2 separate regions of the Homo sapiens genome follow, and region 1 is linked to region 2. The links are contacts of gene promoters, found by promoter capture Hi-C in blood cells and fetal thymus (Javierre and others, 2016). All regions are on one chromosome and are shown on one strand. The core of a region is centred on a gene start or on the middle of the fragment in contact, and the rest is flanking DNA. Distances in the headings are between cores, read along the strand shown. Region 1 overlaps KATNIP (katanin interacting protein). Region 2 holds the start of SBK1 (SH3 domain binding kinase 1).

Region 1 (3,241 bases), core at 511-3,010, 650 kb after region 2:
GATTTTCTGAAGGTGCTGAAGCTGCACAGGCCACAACAGGACACAGGATATGGTGGCTGAGTGAGAGCAAAGCCTCTGCTTTAATAATTGCAATGAACTTGCTTTAGAGACCTTTAAGGAACGCCCACCCCACAGTAAATTGCTGGAAGGCCAATCCCTTCACTAGCAATTTAATGCTAAGAGCCGATGACGTTCATCAAATCTGACAGCATTTTGGTAAACGACGGCTCTGTTGATTAGGCCGCTGTCCACCCAAGTATTACAAGGCTGAGGAAGCCATAAATCTTAATCCACAGATAGCAGCATAAAGATCTAAGGCCCAGAAGTGGTGGGGGGAAAAGGACAGTATGAACAAGAGGCCATACATCACCACCAGCCCATTCCACAGGGAAGGTGGCAGCTCGGGAGCCCAACACAGCCATCGCCATGATCCTCCCCAAACCCCCAGGAATCTGAGGGGCTTGGGAAGGGTTTTACAGGTGGAAGTCATCGGCTTCTTGGCCAGGAGCCAGAGTTGGGATGACTCTGTGACCTTCTGGTCAAGGGATCTGGAGGCCAGTGTACCTGACGCAGCCCCTCCTGTCAGGGCAGCTCTACCCAAATGTGCTTTCTTATTGTTGGGTGAGACCGTAAGAAGAGAAACCTGTTCTCCTGGAGGCGGTGAATGGATTGGGCTTGGTCAGTAGAAACAGGGTGTGTGATTCAAGAGAGTTTCAGGGCTGGGCGCAGTGGCTCACGTCTGTTAATCCCAGCACTTTAGGAGGCCAAGGTGGGTGGATCGCATGAGCCCGGGAGTTCAAGACCAGTGTGGGCTACATAGCAAGAACCTGTCTCAAAAAAAAAAAAAAAAAAAAATCCAGCAAGACAGCCAGGAGGAGAGTACAGAGGGTGAATGGGGAGGCAAGGGGGCTGTGTGGACTGTGAATAAGGCTGGGACTGCAGGTGCTCACTGTGCACTGGGACCACTGCATCCCACCACGGTGTCCCCTGCTGACCAATGTGAATACACAAGGCGACCGTGTGGCCCCACTGATACCTCCTGGTTGGCATGGCCCTACAAGTGAAACCCCAAGACCGGGAGAGGACTGTGGTCCCTCTCTTGGTGGAGCAGCTTTTGAGAACTGGCCACTGGCCACTGGGGACTTGGCTGCCTTGACCACTCTGCCTACCTTGGCTGCCCCTAAGCATGGCAGGAGCCCATCCAAAAGGGTTAGGATAGAAAGATTGTCTTCCTCTCCATCCCATGGACCCAAGACTCTGTCTCCATGGACTGTCTACCATGGAGAAACTTTGGACTTAACTCCACTTCTTGGAGCCAGAGCAAACCAATCCAGCCTGTCTTCCTCATGACGGTAATAATGGTATAGCTGGCACCCCCAGTCTATTCACTCTGCTACCTCCAGCCTTCTTGACAAGAAGCTATAGGACTCATGGTTCCTGCTCATGTGGCCAGGGCAGGCAGGGTTTGCACCAAATGAACTGGTCTCTGAGGGGCTCTAGTCATAGCCGATGGAGGTAGGAGGGGGTGCCTCATCCAGGCTAAGCAGCAGCAGCCCAGGCCATGCCCTGAGAAAGGGATGAGCTGAGAGATTCAGACTGTCTCTGTCTTGGAAACTTTCAACTAACAAATATGGAGGGAGTGTAAAACCGTGTGTGGAGAAGGCACGATGGATCAGGGGAACACTGAAGCTACGAGTTGGCGGCAGCTCAGGGACAGGGAACAGAAGTGCAAGGACGGGGGCTGGGGAAGGTTGGTGGAGAGAGACGTAGCCCTGCTTCAAAGGCTTCCTGGTCCTCCTGTAGCCCCTTGCTCCCATGGGCGGTCCTTTCTGCACACATGAACCCAAAATATGAACCCAAACGTGGCGCTCTACTGTTTCAACCCTCTTGGAAATTCTCACATTTAGATTGAAATCCAAACTTCCTCCTGTGGTCTTCTAGGCCCTGCATGGCCGGTTCTTCCTACTTGCAACCCTGACACCCTCATCCCCACCCTTTCTGCCACCCTGTCCTGATCGCCCTGCCTCCTCTCAGCCTGTGCCCAGTGCCCGCTGCTCTCACTGTCCCCTCACCTGAAAGCCTCCCCCAGCCACAGATCTTTCCGGGGCTGGCTCCAGGTAACTCTCAGGCCCTGGCTGCGATGCGGCCCCTTGGGAGGCTGTGCTGCCCACCTTCGCTGAAGGAGCGCTCCCCCGACAGCTTCTCTTTCAGGCTGCTGTCCTCTGTCCTTCCTTCGTAGCACTGTCTTCCGACTCCCTTGCTTGCCTTTGGTCCTTTGCCTTCCCAACCTCCCCACCCGCTCCCCATCAACATGAGCTCCAGGAGAGCAGGGCTGGCCTCACTTATTGCTTGGAACCCGGCATCTGTAAGTGCCAAAACTGAGTATGTGCTCAATACATGAGCACGGAATGAAAGAAGTAAAGTATGAGTGAGCAAAGGAACATACTAGAGTGAAGAGCCCTGAGGCCTCCAGGCTGAGCTGCCCTCCCCATCTGCCCCTCTGTGATTAAAACAACAACAGGCAGCACCATTCACTATTTCTCCTGTGCCAGGCACTGCTTCAGCTTCTCTCCAAACACAGACCCCACTGATCCTCATTAATTGCCCTCATTAATTACCATTACCAACCTCACATGACAAATGAGAGCGCAGGCACCAAGGGGTTAAGCGTCTTAGCCACTGTGCAGCTGGCAGGAGGCGGAGCCAAGGCTTTGCACTGGGGCTGCTGGAAGGTTCCAGGGTCTATGCTCTTAGCCATTCCTCTGGACTTGTCTGTCACCTGTTCCCACCTGAAGCAGCAGGCAGCCCCTGCTGAGACCACCTGTAATGCACGCTGCACATGCTCCCCTCCAGCAGCCCTGGGAGGTTTCATTGATGATGAAACCAAAGCTCAGAGTGGTTACACGGCCAGCTCCAGAGCACACAGCTCACAGAGGTTACATGGCCAGGTCTGGGGTGCACAGCTCAGAGAGGCTACACAGCCAGCTCCGAGACACACAGCTCAGAGAGGTTACTCAGCCAGCTCTGGGGCACACAGCTCAGAGAGGTCACATGGCCAGCTCCAAGACACACAGCTCAGAGAGGTTACACAGAGAGCTCCAGGGCACACAGCTCAGAGAGGTTACACAGCCAGCTCCAGGGCACACAGCTCACAGAGGTTACACGTACATAGCTCAGAGAGGTTACACAGCCAGCTCCAGGACACACAGCCAGTGAGCAGTCCAAAGCCTACTCCTTCCAC
Region 2 (3,594 bases), core at 467-2,966:
CCTAGGGTCTCTCGGCTTCCTCATATGCGGTAGAGCCTGGGGTTCAGGACCTCACTGAGGGCCAGGCTGGGGTACGGCCGTGTGTACCACCTGGAAAGCCACAGTGAGACCCTGGAATTGGCCCTTGGTTGTCTGGGACACATTGAGCCAACCCTTGGTTTAACCTGGGTGTTCTCCAGGTTAGGAGGGGAAGGGAAAGACTTGGGTTGCTGTCCCTGGGACAAATGGGAACAGAACGGTGCCCTGACCTGAAATAGCTTCTTCATCTAGGCTACCTCTCCTCCCCAGAAACTAGCGCCTCACTTTGGGGGGTACTTACTCCCTCCCTGTCCCACAGGGAGTACAAAGTATGGTTTAGGTAAAGACCGCCAGTGTGGCCTGGGTCGGGCAGCAGAGTCACAGGGAAGATGCGATTCCCATTCATCCGCTCAAACACACCCCTTCCCCGCACTCTCACAGACAAAGACACACACCCGAAGCCCCAGCCATCACCCAGGGCCACATAAGGCAGCCCCCCTCACCTGTGGGCACCCCCAAATTTTCCCCTCTCGGGGGGACTTCACTAGAAGCTCAGCTTGGCCGTGGGGGAGGGGTATTCACACTCCAAGGACCTGGGGGCCAACCTCCAGGCTCGCAGCTTTTGGGGGGGGACTCTCCGCCCTCTTCCCCCCTCTCCATGGCACAACGGGCTCCACCACCACTCCTCCGTGGGGCCGGGGAGCTGCGCCCGAGCCTCAAGGCTAGGGAGTGGGGTGGGGGAAGGGAGAGGAGGAGGGGGCGGCTCCTCCAAGCGAGACACAAAGAGACGTCCTTCAGCCTCGGCTCCATGGCGACGCTGGGGAAGGGGGAGCGCGCAACCCGATACTTCCTTCCCCACCTGCAGGGCTATGGGGACCTCGGTGGCCACTCACCTGCCGCCCCTCACCTGGGCCCGGCTTACCTGGGCTGGGGCCGCGGGGACGCCGCGGCAGGGGGCCTGGGCGCCGTCGCGGTCTTCGTCTGCCCGGCCCCGGGGGCTCAGGGCGCCACGACCATGGACCGGGGTGCAAGCGGTGCCGCCAGGGGCTCAGTCGCCCAAGTCCTGGAGCTTTAGGGGGGGGATCCCCGAGGCTTCTTGCTGGTGAGAGTGTCTCTTGCTGTCCCCGGCTGCCTAGATTTGGGATTTCTATGTACCGGAGTTGGGGGGAATTGGGATCCCCTGATCTAGGGGCGTTCTGAGCTGGGTCTTCTTGTCTTGAGGTGTGGAGTTGTAATGACCGGATCTTGGGAGGGGGTTCTCGCAATCCCGGCCTGGGGGCACTGCGTTCTAGGTCTTGGGGCGGGGGCCCAGACTGAGGAGGGGGAGTCCTTGCGGTGCCGTAGGGGGCTTGCTGTCTTCTAAATACCGAGGAAGTCTCCGCTTTCCCCGCAGGGGAGTCGCTCGGTGTCGGATCCGGGAGGGCCCCCCCTCTTCCCCGAGGCTCGCCGGATCCTGGATGTGGAAGGGGGCTCCCCGCACTCCTCGGCTGCGGGGGCTTTAGTGGGTCCCGGCCACCGGCGGGCGCTGGAAGCCCCTCAGCCGCTGGGGGGCTCGGTCGCCGCCGCTACGAGCAGCCCGGCCCTGCGCTCCCGGCCCCCGGCCTGGCCCGGGCTCCGGCTGCGGCTCCAGCTCGCGCTCCGCCTGGCGCTCGGGCCCCGGCCCCGGCGCCCGCCCGGGCTGCGCTCCATCGCGGCATCGCGGCTCCGCCCTCCAGCCAGCGCGCACCTGCCCGCCCGGCCCGCGGCTCCGCCCTCCGGCTCGCGCGCCGCCGCCCGCCCCTTTGTCCGTCCCGCTCGGCGCGCGCCCTCGCGCAAGCGCGCTCACCCGCCGCGCGCCCGCCCTCCCGCCGCGCGCCGCGGAGCGCAGATTCTCCCCGCGCGGCGCCCCCACCCCCTTCCGGCCGCGCTGGGTCCTAGCGCCGGTGGCTCCCGAGCTGGCTCCCACCCCCCACCCCCCACCCACCCCACTCCTTTTCTAGGTCAGAGCCCACGAGGGGGCGAGAACGAGGTTACAGAGGACTCGGGGGAGTCTGAGAGGGTCACCTGGTCCAGCTTTCTGGGCCCTGCGGGACGAGACTGCCCCAGACTGTCCCGGTCTGTGCTAGTGGGGCGGAGCCTGTGTGTGTTTGAAGGAGGGAAAACAAATCCAGGTTCTGCATTCGGATATGCATTTCATTCATCCATGCGTCCGCCTGCCTGCCTGCGCTTCCATCCATCCATCCATCCGTCCGTCCATCCATCCATCCATCCATCCATGCATCCTATTTCCAGCGAGACGTCAGAGAACTCACAGTCTTCTTGGGGAAGAGGTCATAAACTTGGGCCTGGGTGGTTGCCCTATCCAACTGAGGTCGCCTTTGCGATCCCTGCTGCAAATAGGCAGTGACTAGTCCAGGAGTGCAGCTGGGAGGAACTGCTCGCCGGATAGAAGGGAAGAAAGGAGATTCTAGGCAGAGGTACAGCAGGTGTAAGGGATGTTGCATTGTCTGTTTGATAACCGGAAATTGGTGGCCTGGATGAAGTGGGTGGATGGGGACAGAGATGAGATAGGGACAGCTCGTCCTTCCAGGCCCTGTTCTTTCTCCTCCCTGCAGCTCACTCTTTCCCTAGTGAGAAAGCCCCAATAGGACGCCTTCCCTATTTCTTTCTTTTTTTTTTGTTTTTTTAGCTTCAAGCTTCAAAAGCATTTCTTTTTCATTCTTTTTTTTAATTATTATTATACTTTAAGTTTTAGGGTACATATGCACAACATGCAGGTTTGTTACGTATGTATACGTGTGCCATGTTGGTGTGCTGCACCCATTAACTCGTCATTTAGCATTAGGTATATCTCCTAATGCTATCCCTCCCCCTTCCCCCCACCCCACAACAGTCCCTGGTGTGTGATGTTCCCCTTCCTGTGTCCATGTGTTCTCTTTGTTCAATTCCCACCTATGAGTGAGAACATGCGGTGTTTGGTTTTTTGTCCTTGCGATAGTTTGCTGAGAATGATGGTTTCCAGCTTCATCCATGTCCCTACAAAGGACATGAACTCATCATTTTTTATGACTGCCCCTATTTCTTCTAAGTTTTTGATCAGGCTGTTTTCTCAACCCAGCGTAATCCTCCCAGCCACTCCCGACTGTTTCCAGAGCTTTAGGAGCCAGGGATTGCAAACGCAAGTACCTACAGGCGCAGACATGAGCGACTGGGGTCGCATGTAAAGTGATAGAGAGGGTGGAGAAGAGGGGAACTGGAGACATCGTGGGCTGTGCGTGGCTGGATGATATTCAAAGAGAAGCAGGACATCCAGAAATCTTCCAACTTTTAAATGTTTGAAACGAATTCCCAAAATTCGGAAATATTGAATGGGCCAAATGAAACACACTTTGCAGACAAATCTGGCCCCCAGACCATAGGTTGGCAACCTCTACCATTGAGAATATTGTTTCAGTTCTTAACTTGTCGGCCTCCTGCCTCTGTCTAGATTGTCTTTTTTCTCTTTTCTTTTCTTCTCTTCTCTTCTCCTTTCTTTCTTTTTCTCTCCCCGCCCTTCCTTCCTTCCTTTCTTCTTTCCTTCCTTCCTGCCTTCCTACC

The links. The method cuts DNA at HindIII sites, captures the fragments that hold promoters and counts their contacts. A CHiCAGO score of 5 or more calls a contact.
Region 1: a fragment that was not itself captured here is called in contact with the fragment with the promoter of SBK1 in region 2 in 1 of 17 cell types (M1 macrophages); the score reaches 5.7 in M1 macrophages.

The regions. Positions count from the first base shown.
Region 1 is chr16:27,636,450-27,639,690 of GRCh38, reverse strand. The region is part of intron 5 of KATNIP (katanin interacting protein); the gene reads right to left. Among named protein-coding and RNA genes, the nearest start is that of KATNIP, 88 kb to the right of the region's middle. RefSeq lists an enhancer at 2,371-2,871. The HindIII fragment of the contact is 4,214 bases long and covers 1-3,241 here.
Region 2 is chr16:28,290,647-28,294,240 of GRCh38, reverse strand. SBK1 (SH3 domain binding kinase 1) reads right to left here and starts at 1,716. Exons shown (of 4, transcript NM_001024401.3): 1 at 941-1,716. LOC124903670 (a long non-coding RNA gene) reads left to right here and starts at 2,176. Exons shown (of 2, transcript XR_007065033.1): 1 at 2,176-2,474. RefSeq lists silencers at 1,616-1,845, 2,053-2,224. The HindIII fragment of the contact is 5,383 bases long and covers 1-2,695 here.